Linked DNA regions of Homo sapiens: all the other regions are linked to region 4. Evidence: promoter capture Hi-C in 16 types of primary human blood cells and fetal thymus (Javierre and others, 2016). All regions are on one chromosome and are shown on one strand. Each heading gives the region's core, a stretch centred on a gene start or on the middle of the fragment in contact. The rest is flanking DNA. Distances are from core to core; before and after follow the strand shown.

Region 1 (3,087 bases), core at 164-2,663, 270 kb after region 4:
TCCTGGAGCCGGTACAGCCAATGGTGGAGGCGGCCCCGGGTCCTGGGCCCTGCCGTGGGCTGAGGCTGGATCTGTGGGCAGAGGAGGGCGGTGTGTGAGCCGGGGCCTTGGCAAGGGGAAGGACGCTGCTCAGAGCTCACAGACCTGGGTGCCCAGGCCCCAACGACTCACACAGGCCCGGAACTGGGAGAGGATATGGTGCAGGGTGTGAAGGGGCTGGTCCAAGACGTCCACCAGGGCTGGGTCAGTGTCAGCGGTGGCCTCCAGAACCTTCAGCGTCAGGGCCAGCTCAGCCTCCAAAGCCATGGGGCGCTCCCTCACCTGAGGAGAGGTGAGAAAGAGCAGGTGAGGGGGGAGGTGAGGGGAACAGGTTGGGGAGCAGGATAGAGAGGAACAAGTGAAGGTGACAGGCACAGGGGAGAGGGCACAGCCAGTGTGGTCAGGTGGGAGCGGAGGGAAGGGAGAGCAGGTGTGAGGAGAAGAGAGAGAGACAAGGGAGAAAGAGACGGTGAAGGGGCCACTACAGAGCCAGGTGAGTGGGGCTGGGAGAGCAGGGGTGGGCCTGACTCCCCCTCTCACCTGCAGCTGCCTCAGGTCCCAGGTCCTGGGGAAGAGGCGGGAGTGGCACCTGCAGTCCTTCAGCAGAAGCGACTCTTCCTAGACAGCAAAGGCACAGGTTAGCCCCAGCAGGAGGGGTGGAGGTTAGACCATCCTGGTGGGATTGGAGGATGGCTGACAACAGGATAGGGGAGGTTAACTGCTGGGAGGATGGTAGAGGACCCTCTTCTACAGGAAAACATGAGTCAGTCCCTACAGTAGGAGCATGAGATAGCCCACTGCAGGGAGGGTGGAGGCTAGCCCAGTGAAGGAAGCTGGGAGTGGGAAAGCATGGTGACGCTTGGAGTGGGGGTGGAGGCTAGTCCATGGCAGGAGGGCAGGGGGAGACTCACTAAGGCATCTTTGGCCCTCTTAAAGGCCTGCAGCTCCTGTGGAGACAGGGACTTGAACTGGGCTATGTGGCAGCCCCTTGCATCCGGGAGAGCCCCGTGGAGCCTGGCGACAGGAACTGCTCCAGTCACGGTCAGCACTGCGGCCATCAGCACCAGCACTGGCGTGCAGTCCCCAGTCATGTCTGTGTCACAGAGAGAAAGGGAGCTGAGGGGATGGAGAGGCTGCCCACTGAGGGCAGGGGCTGCAGGAGCTGAGCACGGACAGAGATGTGGGACTCACCTAGTTTCATTCCTGATCTCTGGTCTTTGTCAGCAGAAGAAACACTCTGAGGCTGTCACCCAGGGTCTGTTTGGGTCTTGTCTGGAGTCTCTGTTCTTTTCAGTCCCCTCTTCTGGATCTCAGACTGTGTCCTGGCTTTGACTCTTTCTGTCAGTTTTGAGCTCTGTCTGGGATGTAATTCCTGCCTGAGCTCCATGGGGCAGCTTTTATCCCTGACAGAAGGGCAGTCCCAGCTGATGTAGGAAAAGTGAAAACACAGCCTCAGGTAAGACACCGGCCACCAGGGGAGCCCCAGGCTGGGAAAGCCCAGAGCAGGGCAGGGCTAGTGAGCCAGATGAGCAGCTGGAGGGAAAGAGAAACTGATGGAGACTCAGGGGTAACCTACAGGAAGGTATGTTCCCAGGAGGATTCCACCTGCTCTGGTTTTGTTGTTGTTTAAGACAGGGTCTCACTCTGTCACTGGAGTGCAATGGCATGATCACAGCTCACTGCAGCCTCAAACTCCTGGGCTCAAGCCATCCTCCTCACCCAGCCTATTAAAGTGCTGAGATTACAGGCCTGAGCCACCCCTCCTGGCATATATATATATATATATTTTGAGACAGGGTCTTGTTCGGTCACCCAGGCTGGAGTGCAGTGCAAAATCTTGACTAACTGCAACCTCCACCTCCTGGGTTCAAGCGATTCTCTTGCCTTAGCCTCCCAAGTAGCTGAGATTACAGATTTGTGCCACCATTCCCAGCTAATTTTTATGGTTTTAGTAGAGATGACAGTTCACCAATTGGCCAGGCTGGTCTCGAACTCTTGACGTCAAGTGATCTGTCTGTCTTGGCCTCCCAAATTGCTGGGGTTGCAGGCATGAGCCACTGTGCCCAGAGGCCATGATTTCTTTCTTTCTTTCTTTTTTCTTTTTTTTTTGAGATGGAGTCTTGCTCTGTAGCCCAGGCTGGAGTGCAGCAGCGTGATCTCGACTCACTGCAACCTCCACCTCCTTGGTTCAAGGGATTCTTCTGCTTCAGCCTCCCGAGTAGAAAGGACTATAGGCATGCACCACCACGCCCAACTAATTTTTGTATTTTTAGTAGAGACGGGGTTTTGCCATATTGGCCAGGTTGGTCTTGAACTCCTGACCTCGTGATCTGCCTTCTTCGGCCTCCCAAAGTTCTGGGATTATAGGCGTGAGCCACCGCGCCCGGCCAGAGGCATATATGTGTGTGTATATATATATATATATATATATATAGAGAGAGAGAGAGAGAGAGAGAGAGAGAGAGAGCATGAGAGAGAGTGAGTGAGCAAGAGAGATGGAGTCTCGCTCTGTTGCCCAGGCTGGAGTGCAGAGGCACCATCTCAGCTCACTGCAACCTCTGCCTCCTGGGTTCAAGTGATTCTCCTGCCTCAGCCTCTTGAGTAGCTTGGATTACAGGCATGTGCCACCATGCCCAGCTAATTTCTGTATTTTTAGTAGAGACAGGGTTTCACCATGCTGGCCAGGCTAGTCTTGAACTCCTGACCTCATGATCCACCTTCCTCGTCCTCCCAAAGTGCTGGGATTACAGGCATGAGCCTCTGAGCCCAGCCAAGGCCAATATTTCTTAATTGCCCAGGCAAGGAAGGACTCAGGAATATGAGGCTCTGCTCAAGAACTGAGGTGTGACGAAGGACTTGAAGGACACCACGTGGGTGCCGTCTTTCTTAGGGAAGTTCAGGCAGTGGTGAAGAGCATGGGTCTTGGAGATGAAGGGTCTGGGGTTCAAACCTGGTTCTGACCCTCACTAGCCGTGTGACCTTGGCAAGGAGGGGTGCATTCAGCAACGCAGATTGCTAATGCACAGATTTGGAGAAAAAATTAATAAC
Region 2 (3,274 bases), core at 464-2,963, 340 kb after region 4:
GACCAGCCTGGCCAACATGGTGAAACTCCGTCTCTACTAAAAATACAAAATGAGCTGGGCATGATGGCGCACACCTATAATCCTAGCTACTCAGGAGGCTGAGGCAGGAGAATTGCATGAACCTGGGAGGCAGAGGTTGCAGTGAGCTGAGATTGCGTCACTGCACTCCAGTCTGGGCAACAGAGTGAGACTTCATCTTAAAAACAAAAACCAAAAACCAATAATAGCTGCTATTGACTGGTGCTAGCCAGACCTGGCCGGGCCCTATGCTGTGTGTTTTACAAGCATTCTCTCTTATGCTAACCCTGTTTACAGAGCAGGAAATGGAGGTCCAGAGAGGCCAAGTCAGTTTCTCCAGGTCTCACAGTGAGGAAGGGTGGAGCAGGGAATGGAGTGTAAGCCACACTGGCCCTGGCGACTCACCTTTGGTTCTGCTGGAGCTTTTCAGTTCTAATGTACCAGCCACGGAAATTGCCTGCAGGTTGGGGAGCAAAGGGTTAGGACACCCCAACGCTGGAGGACCCTCCCCACCCTCAGCAACCTGGCCCTCCAAGCACTTACCCAGAGTTTCCAGGGGTCGCTGGGTGGGACCAGTAGGGGGTGCTGGCTCATAAATGTTGATGCCTGAAATGGACAGGTGAGTGGAGCCTCTGGGCAGCCCCTCCATCTTCCACCGCCTCACCCCTCCCTACCCGCAGGGCTATACACTGGAAGGGCAGGAATCTGTGCCAGGTCAGGGAAGCCCGGCAGGGATGAGTGAGTCAGGGCTCTGGGCTGGGGAGAGGGCAATGCCAGGGGTAAGTGGGGTGTGGTGAGACAGACAGAGACAGAGGGACAGAGAGAAGAACCCAGAGAAAGAGACAGGCCAAGAGTTTGAAACCAGCCCAGCCTGGCCAACATGACGAAACCCTGTGTCTACTAAAAATACAAAAATTAGCCAGGCATGGTGGTGCATGCCTGTAATCCCAGCTACTCGGGAGACTGAGGCAGGAGAATTGCCTGAGCCTGGGAGGCGGAGGTTGCAGTGAGCTGAGATTGCACCACTGCATTCCAGCCTGGGCGACAGCAAGACTCCGTCTCAAGAGACAGAAACATAGGCAGAGGGGGAGAGAGAGAGGAGGAGAGAGAAAGAGAGATGGAGAGGTGTGAGGGAGAGGTGTGAGAGAGGTAGGTAAGAGACATGACAGAGAGACAGGTGGTAAAATGGAGAGGCACAATGACAGAAAAAGAGACAGAGGGATGCAGAGAAATGCATAGACAGAGAGAGACAAAGAGGTAGAGAGATAAGGAAACAGGGAAAGAGGAAGAGACAGACGGTCAGGGTGGTGCCTCCTGGCTGCTCTGGGCCCTTGCGCACCTTCGGGGTTGGGCGAGCGCAGCAGGTTGCGGTAGAGCGGCCGCCGCAACAGGAGCAGCTTCCAGGTGAGGCGCTGGGGCAGCTCCAGGCCCCCGCTCAGCGGCCCCCACTCCTCCAGCAGCAGCTGCCGGGCGTGAGCCTCGGACGGCTGCGCCGGCTCGGGGAGCTCGGGGGCCTCCGGGGCTGCGGGCGATGGCAGCGACGGCGGCGAGGGCAGTGGTGGCGGCGACGGCGGCGGTGAAGGCGACCGTGGCGAGGGAGGCAGCTCCTGGAGGCTCGCGGGCCCATCGGCTTCCATCCCGCCACCGAGCGCGTGTCCCTCACGCACCTCCTCCATCCCTCGAGGCTGCGCGACTGTCCCGGTTTCACAGGGCTGGGGTTAACTGGGAGCGGGAAGGGGCAGGGCACCCTGGCTGACATTTAAGAGAGGGGCGTGTCGGGGGAGGATCTTGTCCCTCGGACCCTCCTCCCTCAGACCCAGGAGTCCAGGCCCCTAGCCCCTCCTCCCTCAGACCCAGGAATTCAAGACCCCAGCCCCTCCTCCCTCAGACCCAGGAGTCCAGGCCCCTAGCCCCTCCTCCCTCAGACCCAGGAATTCAAGACCCCAGCCCCTCCTCCCTCAGACCCAGGAGTCCAGGCACCAGCCCCTCTTCCCGCAGACCCAGGAATCCAGGCCCCCAGTCCGTCCTCCCTCAGATCCAGGAGTCCAGGCACCAGCCCCTCCTTCTTCAGACCCAGAAGTCCAGGCACCAGCCCCCTCCTTAGGTCCCCAGACTTCCTGCCCCAATTTTCCCAGGGCCAGCTGAGGACCCAGCGTGAGCCTGACAGAGCGTGTGACTAATGTGCTAATGCCAGGGCTCCGGGCTGTCTAATGGGACCCGTGCACCTCATTAAGATCCAGCATGGCAGGATTAAGAGGCTAATTAACGAAGACCCCCCTCCTCCCCCTCCCCACTCTGCAGAGGGGGAGTGGATGGATGAGCTGAGGTGCAAAGGGAAGGTCCTGCCTCTGCCACTTCCTTCTCTGTCCTCACCTGGGACACCCCCTTGGGGCCCTGACACATACTGTCCAGAAAACCAAGGTGAGGAGAGCAGAGAGACACCCAAAACCAGAGATGAGGAGCCTCAGAGATGGGGGACCCCAGGGAGGCACAAAGATGGCAGTGAGAGGGAAGCAGTGATCCCAACTGGGTGTTCTGGGGGCCTGCACCCCTGCCTGGGACTGGGGTGGGGGGCTGCAGAAGCCTCCCCCATCAGAGGTCACGAGGAGGTGGGAGCAAGGGACGGGGCACAGGTGGGGACAGGAGGTCAGGTGTGGAGGAAGTGGGGTGGCAGAGGAACCTGTAGCGCCAGATTCCCACAGCCACTTCCTGCCCGTGGCCACATCCCTCTACCTGGCCCAGGTAAGCTCAGCACTGAGCGCTTGCTTCTCTCTCTCTCTCTCTCTCTGATGGAGTCTCACTCTGTCACCCAGGCTGAAGTGCAGAAGCACGATCTCAGCTCACTGCAACCTCCGCCTCCCGGGTTGAAGTGATTCTCCTGCCTCAGCCTCCCGAGTAGCTGGGATTACAGGCATGTGCCACCACACCCAGCTAATTTTGTAGTTTTAGAAGAGACGAGGTTTCACCCTCTTGATCAGACTGGTCTCAAACTCCTGACCTCAAGTGATCCACCTGCCTTGGCCTCCCAAAGTGCTGGGATTACAGGCGTGAGTGCTTTCTACTGAGCGCCTCTAAGTTCATTTCATTCTCCTACAAAGACAAGGTGGGTGCTACTATGACTGGCATTTTATAGGTAAAGGAAAAGTAACAGCAAACATGTGTGTGCAGCTGTGTGCTGGCGGATGCCCTCTGGGACGGGTCTTTCCAATACAACAACCCTGTGAGGGGTGCCATGGAAACAGAAGCTGCCTTCCCA
Region 3 (3,077 bases), core at 32-2,531, 320 kb after region 4:
GATTTGTGACCAGGCATACAGCTAACCCAAGGCCAGATCTTTTTTTTTTTTTTTTTTTTTTTTGAGATGGAGTCTCGCACTGTCGCCCGGGCTAGAGTGCAGTGGTGCGATCTCAGCTCACTGCAACCTCTGCCTCCTGGGTTCAAACAATTCTTCTGCCTCAGCCTCCTGAGTAGCTGGGATTACAGGCACCTGCCACCATGCCCAGCTAATTTTTTGTATTTTTAGTAGAGATGGGGTTTCACCACTTTGGCCAGGCTGGTCTTGAACTCCTAACCTCGTAATCCGCCTGCCTCGGCCTCCCAAAGTGCTGGGATTACAGGTGTGAGCCACTGCGCCTGGCCTAGATCCATCTTTTTGAGGCATTGAGTGCCCATCTCTAGCTAAGTTCTGGCAGCAAGATGTAGACAGGAGTGTCATGTACCATGCTCCTGGAAGAGCATTTCCTTCTTCTTCCCTCCCTCCCTTCCTCCACATGTTGACTGGGATGTAGATGGGAAGGATGGAGCTCAAGCAGCCATATTGGGCCACAAGAAAAAGCCACATTTGATGCTGGAGCAACAAGACAGAAGGAGCCTGGGCCCTGACACTGGAGCCCCAGACAGCCTTGGTAGCTGTCTCCCTTCATATGAAAGACAAGAATACTCCTCATTTGTAAAACAAAATACTAATTTTTGGGCAGAATAACAGCCCCCCGAGGTGTCCTCAGAACTAGCGAATATATTATGTTACACAGCAAGGAAGAGTTAAGGTTGCAGATGGAATTAAAGTCACTAATCATTATTTTATTTTATTTTTTTGAGACAGTCTCACTCTGTCACCCAGGTTGGAGTGCAGCGGTGTGACCTTGGCTCACTACAGCCTCTGTCTCCCGGGCTCAAGCGATTCTCATGCCTCAGCCTCCTGAGTAGCTGGGACTACAGGTGCATGCCACCACGTCCAGCTAATTTTTTGTATTCTTAGTAGAGATGGGGTTTCACCATATTGGCCAGGCTGGTCTCAAACTCCTGACCTCAAGTGATCTGCCCGCCTCGGCTTCCCAAAGTGCTGGGATTACAGGCATAAGCCACCACGCATGTCCCATTGATTTTAAAATAAGGAAATTGGGCATGGTGGCACGTGCCTGTAATCCCAGCTACTTGGGAGGCTGGCTGAGGCAGGAGAATTTCTTGAACCTGGAAGGCTGAGGTTGCAGTGAGCTGAGATCATGCCACTGCACTCCAGCCTGGGCGACAGAGCAACACTCCATCTCAAAAAAAAAGAAAAGAAAAGAAATTGACTATGCAACCAGGCTCAGTGTATCCTGGAGCTGAGTGGCTAAAAACATGGACTCTAGGCTGGGTGCGGTGGTTCATGCCTGTAGTCCCAGCACTTTGGGAGGCTGAGGCTGGAGGATCACTTGAGCCCAGGAGTTTGAGACCAGCCTGGGCAACATAGCAAGATTCTGTTTCTACAAAAATATGCAAAAATTAGCCAGGTGTGGTGGTGCATACCTGTAGTCCCGGCTACTCAGGCAGCTGAGGCAGGAGGATTGCTTGAGCCTGGGTAATCAAGACTGCAGTGAGTGGTGATCACACCACTGCCCTCCAGCCTGGGCAACAGAGTAAGACTCCGTGTCTTTAAAACAAAAAACAACAACAACAAAGGAAATTATCCTGGATTATGTGGGTAGGACCAGAGTAATTGTAAGGATCCCTTAAAGTGGAAGAGCAGGCAGCAGAAAAGGACAGAGTCATAGAGGGATTTAAAGATTCTCTGTTGCTGACTTCAACAAGGAAGGGGCCACAAGCTAAGGAATGCAAGTGGCCTCTAGAATCTGGAAAATGCAAGAAACAGGATTCTCCCCTGGAGCCTCCAGAAGGAAGGCAGCCCGATGACACCTTGATTTTAGCCAAAGGAGACTCATTTTGGACTTCCAACCTCCAGGACTGTGAGATAATGAATCTGTGTTGTTGTAAAGCACTGTTTGCAATCATTTGTTACGGCAGCAATAGGAAACTGATTCATAATTAATCCAAACTTCTTGCTTGAATCTTTCTCTGACTCTAAAGCTCCTGATTAATAAGAATAATAATAATCACACTTTGGGAAGTTGAGGCAGGTGGATCACCTAACATCAGGAGCTCGGGACCACCTTGGCCAATATAGGGAAACCCCATCTCTATTTTAAAAAATACAAAAATTAGCCAGGTGTGGTAGTGCACACCTATAATTTCAGCTACTCAGGAGGCTGAGGCAGGAGAATTGCTTGAACCCGGGAGGTGGAGGTTGCAGTGAGGTGAGATCGCGCCACCGCACTCCAGCCTGGGCAACAGAGTGTGACTCTGTCTCAAAATAAATAAATAAATTAAATAATAATCAAAACCATCATCCATGTCAGTAAACACACTGAGCACTTTCCATGTGCCTGAAATAACCTCAACCCACTATACTTTTTGCTTATGTAAGACACACAACAATCCCACAAAAAAAGTGTAAAGCCTTAAATACAAATGTGGGAAAAGGAACGAGGCTGAAAATAAGCCAGCTAACCATCTATCTTAAATGTGAGGAAAAGAACAGCACGCAAAACTCAAAGAAAAGGGCCAGGCATGGTGGCTCATGCCTGTAATCCCAGCACTTTGGGAGGCCAAGGTGGGTGGATCACTTGAAGTCAGGAGTTCAAGACCAGCCTGGGCAACATGGTGAAACCCCATCTCTACTAAAACTACAAAAAATTAGCTGGGCATGGTGGCACATGCCTGTAGTCCCAGCTACTTGGGAGGCTGAGGCAGGAGAATCCCTTGAACTTGGGAGGCGGAGGTTGCAGTGAGCTGAGATCGCACCACTGCACTCCAGCTTGGATGACAGAGCGAGACCCCGTTTCAAAAACAAACAAACAAACAAACAAACAAAAAACTCAAAGGAAAAAAGAATAAAGAAAGCAAGCATGAAAGATATAATAGGCTGGGAGCAGCGCTTCACCCCTGAAATCCCAGTGCTTTAGCAGGCCGAGGCAGGAGGATCACTTGAGCCCAGGAGATTGAAAGCAGCTTGGCAACACAGTGAGTGATCCCATCTCTACAAAAAGAAAAAAT
Region 4 (2,894 bases), core at 217-2,716:
TCCCAGCACTTTGGGAGGCTGAGACAGGCGGGTCGTTTGAGCCCAGGACTTTGAGACCAGCCTGGGCAACATAAGGAGACCCTGTCTCTACAAAAAAATTAAAAATTAACTGGGTGTGGTGGTGTACACCTGTAGTCCCAGGTACTCAGGAGACTGAAGTGGGAGGATTATTTGAGCTCGGAAGGTTGAGGCCACGTTGAGCTGTGATTGTGCCACTGCACTCCAGTCTGGGTAACAGAATGAGATGAAAGAAAGAAGGAATGAAGGAAGGAAGGAAGGAAGGGAGTGAGGGAGGGAGGGAGGAAGAGAAAATGTGAATGGATGAATCTCATAAAAATAATGCACAAAAAAACAGATACAAGTGTGTATGTGAGAAAACATTTTAAATGGTCCATTTCTGAGGCATGATAAATCTAAGTACTGGCAGCCAGCCTGCAAATATAACAAACTGCAGGGCTCATCCACCTAGAAGGTCACAATAAGGGAACAGAATGTAGAGGCGGGGTCAGCCCATAAAAGGGAAGAAAGTGGCCGGCGCAGTGGCTCACGCCTGTAATCCCAGCACTTTGGGAGGCCGAGGCAGGCGGATCACGAGGTCAAGAGATCGAGACCATCCTGGCCAACATGGTGAAACCTCGTCTCTACTAAAAATACAAAAATTACGCAGGTGAGTGTGTTTCTCACATAGATAAAGTTCAGAATACAAACCAAACTAAACTACAGCATTAGGAATGCACCCTTAGGTGGTAAAATGAAAAGAAAAACAAGAAAGTGATTACCATAAGTATCAGCATAGTTGTTACTTCTGCGTAGAAAGGAAAGGATAGTGATAAGAAGAAGAGGAAGGGTTCTGGGATGCTGGAAATATTCCACTTCTTGGACTGTGTGGTAGTTAAACGGATGTTCACTTTGTGATAAATCATTCAGCTGTATATTTATGTTTTGTTTACTTTTCTGCATGTTATATTGCACAAATAAGATTCGAAAAACAAATGTCCAAGGTAGTCAATGCAATGTTAAAGATAACACGAAAAGACTGTAATTACAAAGCTTTGGTAGCTAGGACGATCCGTATGGATGAAGACAGGCAAAGGAATGAATGAAAAACAATTTAAAAATCCAGAAAAGACCATGAATCTAAAATATCTTGATATATAATAGAGGTGGCACATAATCACTGGAGAACAAAGAGAAACACCCTAGGACAGAACCTTGAGAACGCCTACAAGAAGCGATCTTGTAAGCGTTCCTCATAAACATCAAACTGGTTGAAATGTCCCCCGCCCTTCGTCGTTGGGATGTTTCAGATGCGTTGGCGCTTCCCGGCCTCGAGGGGGCATCTGGAGAACGGCGGGCGCCGGGAAAGTACGCATGCGCACTGCTCCCAGGGTTTGCGGTAAGAATCTATGCTCTCGCGCCCGGTTACGCACACTGCATTTACAGCGCGCATAGCGCCCACGCACGCGCACTGGGGTGTCCGCCGGGCATCGCTCTGTCCAGTTATTCCAGTTTCTCTGGGAGCAGCCGAGTTGACCCCACGGTCTGAGATGTCCAAGCTGCCCGCAGACAGCAGTGTCCCGCAGACAGGCGCGGCGAATGGTGACAGAGACGTCCCGCAGGCGGAGGTAGGCCGCGGGAGGCGGGAGCCGGCCCCGGCACAGCCTGAGGAGGCCGGGGAAGGCGCGATGGCGGCGGCCAGGGGAGGCCCGGTGCCGGCGGCCAGGGAAGGTCGGATGGCGGCGGCCAGGGCAGCCCCGGCGGCGGCAGCCAGGGGAGCCCCGGTGGCAGCGGCGGCGTTGGCCAGGGCAGCCGCGGCGGGCAGGGAAAGCCCGGCGGCGGCGGCGGCCAGGGAAGCCCGGATGGCGGAGGTCGCCCGCTTGCTGGGGGAGCCAGTGGACGAAGAGGGTCCCGAGGGCAGGCCCAGGTCCAGACACGGGAACGGAGGCCTGGCTGCGTTGCCCTATCTCCGTCTCCGCCACCCACTTAGCGTTTTAGGCATCAATTACCAGCAGTTTCTCCGCCACTATCTGGAAAATTACCCGATTGCTCCCGGCAGAATACAAGAGCTTGAAGAACGCCGCAGGCGATTCGTGGAAGCCTGCAGAGCAAGGGAAGCAGCGTTTGATGCCGAATATCAGCGAAATCCTCACAGGGTGGACCTCGATATTTTAACCTTTACGATAGCTCTGACTGCCTCTGAAGTTATCAACCCTCTGATAGAAGAACTTGGTTGCGATAAGTTTATCAATAGAGAATAGTTATGTGGTGACACTACTTCAAGAGAACCTCTGCATTCCAGTCATACCAATCCTGCAACTTGATTTTCAGAAGTCAAGAGTATATCGCGATAAGACAGTGCACAGGTGGAGGGGAAAAAAAGGGGGAGGGGGAAGCTTATCTTGAAAAAGCATCACAGAAGTAGAAAAAAATGTCGAAAGCATTATAACTGTAACGTTCTTTGAGTTTGTGATTGATCCACATTTTTCCCCCTGCATTATGGAAAATGTCTCTCAGCATTGCTTTATTACAAAGTAAAGGATGGTTTTATAAAATTGAGACTGATGAAACATCAATACTAGAGCCCATGAGGATGAAAGAAATTATCAAATAGTGCTGAACAGAATAAGATGTTAACGCTGAGTTATTAGGACTGGAAGGCTATGAAAAGAACTTGAAATTGTCGGAATATGTGCTCTCTTCATGTCATATTCAATAGAAGTTTCTAGTTTAAGATTGATTTTGTGTTTTCTTAGGCATTTCAAGTGACAAGCAAAGTAAATGTATATATTATGTGATAAATCATGTTTTCAAGAACGTCAAATTTCTGGACTTTTTTCTTTCAATTTTTAATTTTTAAAGTTTTTTTGGTATTAAAAAATCTATTCACAAGCCAA
Region 5 (3,178 bases), core at 331-2,830, 470 kb after region 4:
TCACTGGAGGCTTCCTGTGAACCGTGTATGATTGCATGGATTCCTCACCACTTCACATGGTCCCATTTTGTATTACAGAAGAGGAAACTGAGGTTCAGAGGAGTGAGCTCACTTACCTGACATCACACTGTCAGTAAGAAGAATAGCTAAGCCAGGTGCGGTGGCTCATGCCTGTAATCCCAGCACTTTGGGAGGCCAAGGCGGGTGGATCGCCTGAGGTCAGGAGTTCGAGACCAGCCTGGCCAACATGGTGAAACTCTGTCTCTACTAAAAATACAAAAATTAGCCAGGCATAGTGATGGACGCCTGTGTTCCCAGCTACTCAGGAAGCTGAGACAAGAGAATCTCTTGAACCTGGGATGTGGAAGTTGCAGTAAGCTGAGATTGCACCATTGCACTCCAGCCTGGGCAACAGAGCAAGACTCTGTGTCAAAAAACAAACAAACAAACAAACAAAAAACCTGAGATTCATTCCTTTCTGCACACTTGGCCTTAACCACCAGGCCCCACTGTCTCCGATTCATCCCTCTGCCATCTCATCCTGGATTTCAGGCCTCAGGTCCTGTGTCATCTCCCAGCATGGTTTTGTTTTTGTCTTTTTTTCTTTTCTTTTTTTTTTTTTTAAGATGAAGTTTTGCTCTTGTTGCCCAGGCTGGAGTGCAATGGCGCAATGTTGGCTCACTGCAATCTCCGCCTCCGGGGTTCAAGCAATTCTCCTGCCTCAGCCTCCTGAGTAGCTGGGATTACAGGCATGCACCACCACGCCCAGCTAATTTTGCATTTTTAGTCAAGACGGAGTTTCTCCATGTTGGTCAGGCTGGTCTCGAAGTCCCGACCTCAGGTGATCCACCTGTCTTGGCCTCTCAAAGTGCTAGGATTACAGGCGTTAGCCACCCTTCCTGGCCATGTATTTTGTTTTTTAAGACAGGGTCTCATTCTGTTGCCTAGGCTGCAGTGCAGTGTCATGATCATAGCTCACTGCAGCCTCGAACTCCTGGACTCAAGTGATCTTCCCACTTCAACCTCCCTAGTAGCTGAGACTACAGTTTCACACCACCTCACCCACCTGATTTTTAAAAATTTTTTGTAGACACAGTCTCGCCTTGCTGACCAGGCTGGTCTCAAACTCCTGGGCTGAAGCGATCCACCTGCCTTGGACTCCCAGCGTGCTGGGATTATAGGCGTGAGCCACTGCACGTGGCCTCCAAGCATCACTGTATCATCAGGTGGACATAACAGTTCCATAAAATCCGGAATTGAGGCCAGGGACAGACTAAACCCTCAAACAAACATGAGCTCTTATAAATATTGGCCCAACTATTTATTTATTTTTATTTTATTATTATTTTTTTTTTTTTGACAGAGTCTTGCTCTGTCGCCTAGGCTGGAGCACAGTGGTGTGATCTTGGCTCACTGCAACCTCTGCTACTTGGGTTCAAGTGATTCTCCTGCCTCAGCCTTCCAAGTAGCTGGGAATACAGGCACATGACACCATGCCTGGATAATTTTTGTTTTTTGTTTTTTGAGACGGAGTCTCACTCTGTTGCCCAGGCTGGAGTGCAGTGGCGCGATTACGGCTCACTGCAAGCTCCACCTCCCGGGTTCATGCCATTCTGCTGCCTCAGCCTCCCAAGTAGCTGGGCCTACAGGTGCCCGCCACCATGCCCGGCTAATTTTTTTTTGTATTTTTTAGTAGAGACGGGGTTTCACCTTGTTAGCCAGGATGGTCTCGATCTCCTGACCTCGTGAACCACCTGCCTCGGCCTCCCAAAGTGCTGGGATTACAGGCGTGAGCCACTGCACCCGGACTTTTTTTTTTTTTTTTTTTAGTAGAGACAGGGTTTTACCATGTTGGCCAGGCTGCTCTTGAACTCCTGACCTCAAATGATCTGCCCACCTCGGCCTCCCAAAGTGCTGGGATTACAGGTGTGAGCCACCATGCCTGGCCCCAACTATTTATTGTACCATTGTTGGGTACACCATTTTCCACTGTAGTCACATTGAGGAGTGTTGGAAGATTTTAAAGTCCTACGGGGGTGTGCTCGGGAGGCTGAGGTGAGAGGATCACTTGATCCCAGGAGACTGCAGTGAGCTGTGATCATGCCACTGCACTCCAGCCTGGGCAACGGAGCAAGACCCTGTCCCCCCCAAAAAATTGCCTTAAAAAATATCTTATTAGGCTGGACGCAGTGGCTCACGCCTGTAATCCCAGCACTTTGGGAGGCCGAGGCGGGCCGATCGCTTGAGCCCAGGAGTTTGAGACCAGCCTGGCCAACATGGCTAAACCTCGTCTCTACAAAAAATACAAAAATTAGCCAGGTGTGGTGGTGTGTGCCCGTGGTCCCAGCTATTCAGAAAGCTGAGATGGGAGGATCACTTGAGCCTGGGAGGGAGGCAGAGGTTGCAGTGAGCCAAGATCTCACCACTGCACTCCAGCCTTGGTAGATCCTGTCTGTAAATAAATAAATAAAAACCCACTGGAGAGCAAGGCTCATCCTTCTGTGTGAGGAAAGGGCAGCCTGGCCCCTGCTGTGTGAAGGATGAGCTGGGTCATATCAAGATCAAATCTGGTGTGATCTTCCCTGAGGGTCTACACTAATCCTTCCTCGTGAGTTCAGTGGGTGAGAACAGGAGTTGAGTCCTAGAGGGCACATGACTCACCACCAACTGGGGGATCTGTCAGGGCTGAAGCGTGGGTCACGCTGTGCATGGTCAGCAGGAGTGTGGTCAGCTCTGTGTATCCTACCTCCAGGAACACCCCAGCCCTCCACAGGCTCTCAGGCGTGGGCCCAGCAGCACAGTTACTAGAGGGAAACGAGTATACCCCTGGGTCCATGGCAGGTCACTCAGGGAGAACAGGCTCTCTGCCATGGTCCATGGCAGGTCTCGCAGGGAGAACAGGCTCTCTGCCATGGTCAAGGCAAGTCAAGTATAGACAGGAATGTGAGCCGGGTGTGGTGGCTCCCAGCACTTTGGGAGGCTGAGGTGGGAGGATCTCTTGAGCCCAGGAGTTCAAGAGCAGCTTGGGTGATGTAGTGAGACCCTGTCTCTGGTTAAAAAGAAAGGAAGAATGTGGTTCATGTTCACCCAGCCATACTCTCCTCAACTTAAAAAACAAAACAAAGGCCGGGTGCAGTGGCTCAAGCTGCAATCTCAGCACTTTGGGAGGCCACAGTGC
Region 6 (3,095 bases), core at 1-2,500, 460 kb before region 4:
AAAGGAAGGCCTGGGATAGGTCACTGGACAATTCAGGAAAAGCAAAGCAATGTTTCCATTTCCTAAAAACAAAAACATTTTATGCATTTATTTAAAGATTTACTTAAAGATATAGACCAGAGAGTTGCAATTTATGTGACAAATAATTTAGTCTTTTTAGATTGAATCAAATGAACTTCTTCAAAGGGAAAAATGCAAATGAAAGCTACAGAAAGTACCTGGGGATGTGATTTTTGTGACTGTGAGCAATGAGGTGACAGGCTCTGTGGTAGATTGTGGCTGTGCTTGACATAGCAGTGTGGTACCACGCCGTATGACTGGGTGCAGGCAAGGCTGTGTGAGGATTAGAATGTGTGATTTCCATTTTATGAATAAAAAGGAAATATAAACTTACCTGGACCTGAACTTTTAGACCTGCTACAACAATTGTTCCCTCCTTTTCAGGATCCCTGTTTTGATGAATAGCAGAATGGGGGAAGAAAAATAATCATGAGACAGCAGGCCTTTCTTAAGAGCACAGACCGACCTAGAATATCCCCTCCAGCGCCACATCTGTGCTGACCTCACGCACATAACAGCTGTGTGAGAGTGAGGCTGGGATCTGTCTCTGAACTCACACCAGGTTTCTAGATCAAAGGTATGGGAATGCAGTGGTTCTGAAACATGCAGCTGCCCACACAGCGGCTCCAACTGCGCAGTCTTCCAACCTGTCGTCCCAGGAGTCTGTTTTAGGGACACTTCTAATTCAAAAGTCCAATCGCCAACCCAGGTCTGTACCTTCTTGCTGGGAACCTTCATCCCAGAGCTCGATATTTGACTTCCCTCTTGGGGACACTGCTGTGTGCAAACACCGAGGCCGTGAGGAGGGTAGAGGGTCAGTGACACACACCAGAGAGCCAGGCACCTGTCTCAGCCTCACACCCGCACCCACACCCGCCCAACCCGGTCCTGACAGGCGCCCCGTCGCGCGCACACACACACATACACCGTCTGCCACATTTTGTCACACAATTTCCCTTCTCCGCTCCCCAAGCACGCACAGGCCTGAGGCTCCCTGCGGGCACGACACGCCAGGTCTGGGCCCTGGAGCGCCTCACTTTGGGCGGCAGTTCTATCCCCAGTCCTACTCGTAAGAGTCCCGTTCCGCCTCACCTAGCTCGGACTTCTCGCCCGCAAGTGAATAATAACGGTTAAGGTGACTGAACCGTTAAGAACGCAATGTAAAGGGCCCTTGGGGTCCAGGCAACACTGCCCAAGGGGCTTCTGGGAAATGTAGTCCACAGCCGGAAACTGATCCTTTTGGGCGGAGGCGCAGGCGCGCGCGCATCCGGCGGGTTCGACTCACTTACCAGGAACCCACGCAGGAAGCTGAGGAGGAGAACAGACGCCTCTGGGCCACTGGCCGGGCCACTTGAGCGTGGGACCGCCGAGTGTGACCCTGAGGCCGAGTGCGTGCGGGACTGGGCGATAGCTCCGCCAGGCAGGATTTTGTTTGTTTCACCTCTTGAGGTAGTCCCGGCGTGTAGTACATAATAGGCGCTTAATATGTGTATTGTAAAGAATGAGTGCCTGGCCATTTGTATTTGCCTTGTGAGCGCGTGTGTGTGGCACTGTGAGGGTTGCGGGACCGACGGAACCTCTCTGGCTCTGGCGGGTTGTGTTTCCGCGTGTGTGTAATTTGAGTGTGAGTCAGTGTGTAGTGAGTGAAGGGATCTGACTGGAGAAAACCACAGTAAATACCCGGGGCTGTGATTTTTGTGACTTTGGTCAATGGGACGACAGGCTCTGTGGTAGACTGGCTGTGCTTGACGTAACAATGTGGTACTATGCCGTGTGGTTGCCGGCAAGGCTATGTGAAGATGAGAATGTGTGATTTGGAAAATCTGGATGTGGAACATCACGGGTGCCAGTGGAATTGTGACTCTGTGTGTGTATAAAAGTTTGCAACCATAGGCCTATATGTCTGTGGGATAAAGAGAATATGTTGCGTCTTCTTGGAGTATCAGCTTTATTTAAACATTTGCATCAGAGAGTTGCGATTTATGTGCCAAAGATTTTTGTCTTTTTATATTGAATTAAATGAATTTTTTACAAAGAGAAAAATGAAAATAATAGTAACTTTCAAAAAATATTAAGAATTTCCTTCCACTCTTATATTCTGGCAATGGATCTTTGGCAATGGGTCTTTGGCAGATCAATTTGAAAAGCTTGGACTGAGGAAATTATACTTGGAAAGCACATTAGGCAGTCAGCCCTTGGTTCCTAAATACCATGCTCCACTGAAAGGAGCAAGGCTCCATGGAGAAATGGCAGATTCCAGAGCTGGGGAAGGGAAAGTTCAGAATGAACTTGGAACATCTTGTGCTTGAAAGTAAGGCAGTGCTCAAAGAATGGTGGGGACGTGTTCAAAGGACATGGAAACCAGATTGAAGGGACTTCCACTGACCAAACTTGACATGGTTTGAGCATCAAAATAAATAATGCTAGTTATAGATTAAAACCCATTAAATAACAGAGGGAATCATAATTCCAAACTGATATAAATTAGTACGTGAAAAAAAATTGAAAGTTTGATGAGGGACTGGATGTTTACATTGTTGCAAAGAACCCCTGCCCCCCCCCAAATCCCTTAAAAATGTGTCAATATAAGGCTGGGCACGGTGGCTTATGCCTATAATCCCAGCACTTTGGGAGGCCGAGGTGGGCGGATCGTGAGGTCAGGAGTTTGAGACCAGCCTGACCAACGTGGTGAAACCCTGTCTCTACTAAAAAAATACAAAAATTAGCTGGGTGTGGTGGTGCGTGGTGGGTCCTGTAATCCCAGCCACTCAGGAGGCTGAGGCAGGAGAATTGCTTGAACCCAGGAGGCGAAGGTTGCAGTGAGCCTAGATCGCGCCACTGCACTCCAGCCTGGGTGACAGAGTGAGACTCCATCTTTAAAAAAAAAAAAAAAAAGTGTCCATATGAAAAAATGCTCAACATTACTAATCATCAGAGAAATGCAAATTAAAACCACACTGAGATACCACCTCACAGTGTTAGAATAGCTGTAATCAAAGAGACAAAAGACGACAAGGGTTGGTGAGGGTATGGAT
Region 7 (3,084 bases), core at 380-2,879, 430 kb after region 4:
GCCAGGTGGGCAGGAGAGGAGGAAGCCCAGCGGCATCCCCCGCAGATGTGCAGAATCCATGGAGCCAGAGCTTAAGCCTCTTCATTCCTGAAGCCCCGTGGGCACCTCGCCCGATCAGAGCTATGCAGGAGGGTGGGGCCCTGCCAGCAGAAACCTGCCGTGTGTCACTCTGTGCCCGCACACCTGCCCTCCCTCCACAGCCAGCCAGGACTCCCACCTCTCCAGGAGGGAACAGCTGCCCCAGCTCCATAGGGCTGCATGTACCCTACATGGGGCCTCTGGAGGGCAGGGGAGTCAGGGCCCACCCAACTCCCCACCCAGGCCTGGGCAGTTTCTGGTCACAGCAGCCAAGGCGGCAAAACCTAGGCTTCTGGAGGAGAGCTGCCGCCATCCCTAGAGGTACATCCTCCGGCCAAACAGGGGTCTCACCACCCAGACATCATCTACGATCTTCCCATCCTGTGAGGGACAAAAACAGGGACAGTAGTTAGAGCTGAAAGCCTGAACTCTGGGGCCACATGGCCTGGGTTCCAGTCCCCTCTCTGCCCTCTGATGGGCTGTACAACCCTGAGCAAGTGGCTAGGCCTCTCTGGGCCTCAGTTTTCCTCATCTGAAAAGTGATAGGAAGAGTAACAGTACCCACATCATAGATGTTGTGGGAGTTAAATGAGATAGTATTTGTAAACAGAGCCCAGCATATGGAAAGGGCTATGTAAGTGTAGGCTATTATTAGAGCACAAACTCTGGAGTCAGACAGACCTTGCTTTATATTCCAGCACATCCACTCTTTCTCTCTCTCTCCTTTTTTTTTTTTTTTTTTTTTTTTAGACAGAGTCTTGCTCTGTCACCCAGGCTGGAGTGCAGTGGCAACCTCCGCTTCCCAGGTTCAAGCCATTCTCCTGCCCCAGCCTCCCAAGTAGCTGGGATTACAGGCATGCACCACCATGCCTGGCTAATTTTTGTATTTTTACTAGAGACAAGGTTTCACCATGTTGGCCAGGCTGGTCTCGAACTCCTGACCTCAAGTGATCCGCCTGCCTCAGCCTCCCAAAGGCATGAGCTGCTGCACCTGGCCAGCGCATCCACCCTCTAGGTGGCCTTAAGCATGTTGCTGGACTCTCTGAGCAAAACTTCCATGTTCTATGCAATGCACAAAGTAATAGATGCCCAGAGTCATCATGAGAACAGAGTGAGATCATGCACACAAAAGTCTGCGCCCGGTGCATGTGCCACTCGATAAATGGTAGCTATCAGATCCCAGCTTGGCCGTCCTCCAACTGTGTGACCCTGGGAAAATTACTTCCCCTCTCTGAGCCTCAGTTCCCTCACCTATAAAATGGAGAGGAAATCCACTCCTGTGGGATTGTTTTGGTGTATAAAGTGCTACTGGGGCCGCATGCGGTGGCTCATGCCTGTAATCCCAGCACTTTGGGAGGCCCAGGTGGGTGGATCACCTGAGGTCAGGAGTTCAAGACCAGCCTGGCTAACATGGTGAAACCCCATCTCTACTAAAAATACAAAAAATTAGCCGGGTGTGGTGGCATGTGCCTGTAATCCCAGCTACTCGGGAGGCTGAGGCAGGAGAATTGCTTGAACCTGGGAGGTGGAGGTTGCAGTGAGCTTAGATTGCACCACTGCACTCTAGCCTGGGCGACAGGGTGAAACTCTGTCTCAAAAACAAATAAATAAATAAAGTGCTACTAAATGCAGAGCATCTAGGCAGTGCCTGGTATGCAGTAGGTGCTCAATAAATCATAAATATTGTCATTATTTTAAAACTACAATGGCAAAAATAAAGAAAGGTGAGCCATTATTATTTGGATCCACCTAACCTTAAGCCACCTGTACCACATACTCATCTTATTGTTTTCCCCTACCTGTGTCCCACCCCCCATCTTTATCTTCCCCTGCCTCACAATGGTAAATACCTACAGAATTTACCAAGTTCCGCACTCTTCTAAGCATTTTATATATAATAAGTCCTTCAACCCCCATGTAGTCCTGTGAGGTGGAAACTATGATTATCCCCTCTCACAGATGGGAAAACTGAGGCAAAGAAGTTAGATAAGTGGGCCCAGCACAGTGGCTCACACCTGTAATCCCAGCACTTTGGGAGGTTGAGGCAGGCAGATCACCTGATGTCAGGAGTTCGAGACCATTCTGGCCAACACAGTGAAACCCTGTCTCTACTAAAAATACAAAAAATTAGCCGGGTGTGGTGGTGGGCGCCTGTGATCCCAGCTACTCGGGAGGCTGAGGTAGGAGAATTGCCTGAACCTGGGAGGTGGCGGTTGCAGTAAACCAAGACTGCACCACTGCATTCCAGCCTGGGTGACAGAGCGAGACTCCATCTCAAAAAAAAAAAAAAAAAATTAGATGAGTGACTCAAGGTCACTCAGCTGGTAAGCAGCAGGAGCAGGTTTCTAGTTCTACAGTCCACATTTGTTCGTTTTTTTGTTTTGAGTTAGGGTCTCACTCTGTTGCCAAGGCTGGAGTACAGAGGCGAGATCATAGCTCACTGCAAACTCTAACTCCTGCACTCAAGTGATCCTCCTGCCTCAGCCTCCCAAGTAGCTGGGACTACAGACATCTGCCACCACACTTGACTAATTTTCCTTTTTTTTCCAAGACAGAGTCTCACTCTGTCTCCCAGGCTGGAGGGCAGTGGTGCCATCTTGGGTCACTGCAAACTTCACCTCCCAGATTTAAGTGATTCTCCTGCCTCAACCTCCCTTGTAGCTGGGATTACAGGCACCCGCCACCATGGCCAGCTCATTTTTGTATTTTTAGTAGAGACGGGGTTTCACCATGTTGGCCAGGCTGGTCTCTAACTCCTGACTTCAAGTGATCTGCCCACCTCAGCCTCCCAAAGTGCTGGGATTTCAGGTATGAACCACCGCACCTGGCCTAATTTTTTTTTTTTTTTTTTTTTTGAGACAGAGTCTTGCTCAGTCGCCCAGGCTGGAGTGGTGCGATCTCGGCTCACTGCAAGCTCTGCCTCCCGGGTTCACGCCATTCTCCTGCCTCAGCCTCCCGAGTAGCTGGGACTATAGGCACCTGCCACCACGCCTGGCTAATTTTTTT

What was found. The method cuts DNA at HindIII sites, captures the fragments that hold promoters and counts their contacts. A CHiCAGO score of 5 or more calls a contact.
Region 1: a contact is called between the fragment with the promoter of IFNL2 here and the fragment with the promoter of EID2 in region 4, in 10 of 17 cell types (neutrophils, total B cells, M2 macrophages and 7 more). The highest score is 23.6, in neutrophils.
Region 2: the fragment with the promoter of NCCRP1 here is called in contact with the fragment with the promoter of EID2 in region 4 in 5 of 17 cell types (M2 macrophages, monocytes, M0 macrophages and 2 more); the score reaches 7.5 in M2 macrophages.
Region 3: a contact is called between a fragment that was not itself captured here and the fragment with the promoter of EID2 in region 4, in 2 of 17 cell types (M2 macrophages and neutrophils). The highest score is 8.1, in M2 macrophages.
Region 5: a contact is called between a fragment that was not itself captured here and the fragment with the promoter of EID2 in region 4, in 2 of 17 cell types (naive CD8 T cells and total CD8 T cells). The highest score is 8.5, in naive CD8 T cells.
Region 6: the fragment with the promoter of ZNF546 here is called in contact with the fragment with the promoter of EID2 in region 4 in 3 of 17 cell types (total CD8 T cells, erythroblasts and endothelial precursors); the score reaches 5.5 in total CD8 T cells.
Region 7: a contact is called between a fragment that was not itself captured here and the fragment with the promoter of EID2 in region 4, in 11 of 17 cell types (neutrophils, naive B cells, total B cells and 8 more). The highest score is 16.0, in neutrophils.

The regions. Positions count from the first base shown.
Region 1 is chr19:39,266,722-39,269,808 of GRCh38, reverse strand. It overlaps IFNL2 (interferon lambda 2), which reads right to left and starts at 1,413. Exons shown (of 6, transcript NM_172138.2): 1 at 1,231-1,413; 2 at 951-1,132; 3 at 580-657; 4 at 172-321; 5 at 1-71. The coding sequence starts at 1,240. The HindIII fragment of the contact is 23,103 bases long and covers 1-3,087 here.
Region 2 is chr19:39,195,403-39,198,676 of GRCh38, reverse strand. NCCRP1 (NCCRP1, F-box associated domain containing) reads right to left here and starts at 1,713. Exons shown (of 6, transcript NM_001001414.2): 1 at 1,358-1,713; 2 at 562-624; 3 at 424-475. The coding sequence starts at 1,694. The HindIII fragment of the contact is 37,818 bases long and covers 1-3,274 here.
Region 3 is chr19:39,213,976-39,217,052 of GRCh38, reverse strand. No RefSeq gene overlaps it. Among named protein-coding and RNA genes, the nearest start is that of SYCN, 11 kb to the right of the region's middle. The HindIII fragment of the contact is 6,255 bases long and covers 1-3,077 here.
Region 4 is chr19:39,538,733-39,541,626 of GRCh38, reverse strand. EID2 (EP300 interacting inhibitor of differentiation 2) reads left to right here and starts at 1,466. Exons shown (of 1, transcript NM_153232.4): 1 at 1,466-2,894. The coding sequence starts at 1,548. The coding sequence ends at 2,258. RefSeq lists an enhancer at 1,211-1,710 and a silencer at 1,682-1,761. The HindIII fragment of the contact is 1,343 bases long and covers 1,053-2,395 here.
Region 5 is chr19:39,070,537-39,073,714 of GRCh38, reverse strand. No RefSeq gene overlaps it. Among named protein-coding and RNA genes, the nearest start is that of ACP7, 12 kb to the left of the region's middle. RefSeq lists an enhancer at 1-268. The HindIII fragment of the contact is 4,805 bases long and covers 1-3,178 here.
Region 6 is chr19:39,995,215-39,998,309 of GRCh38, reverse strand. ZNF546 (zinc finger protein 546) reads right to left here and starts at 1,250. Exons shown (of 7, transcript NM_178544.5): 1 at 1,153-1,250; 2 at 395-449; 3 at 1-62. RefSeq lists a silencer at 216-315 and enhancers at 1,134-1,428, 1,101-1,600, 1,436-1,615, 1,601-2,102. The HindIII fragment of the contact is 5,081 bases long and covers 1-2,209 here.
Region 7 is chr19:39,107,428-39,110,511 of GRCh38, reverse strand. ACP7 (acid phosphatase 7, tartrate resistant (putative)) reads right to left here. Exons shown (of 13, transcript NM_001004318.3): 13 at 1-459. The coding sequence ends at 394. Among named protein-coding and RNA genes, the nearest start is that of PAK4, 17 kb to the left of the region's middle. RefSeq lists an enhancer at 9-78. The HindIII fragment of the contact is 5,363 bases long and covers 1-3,084 here.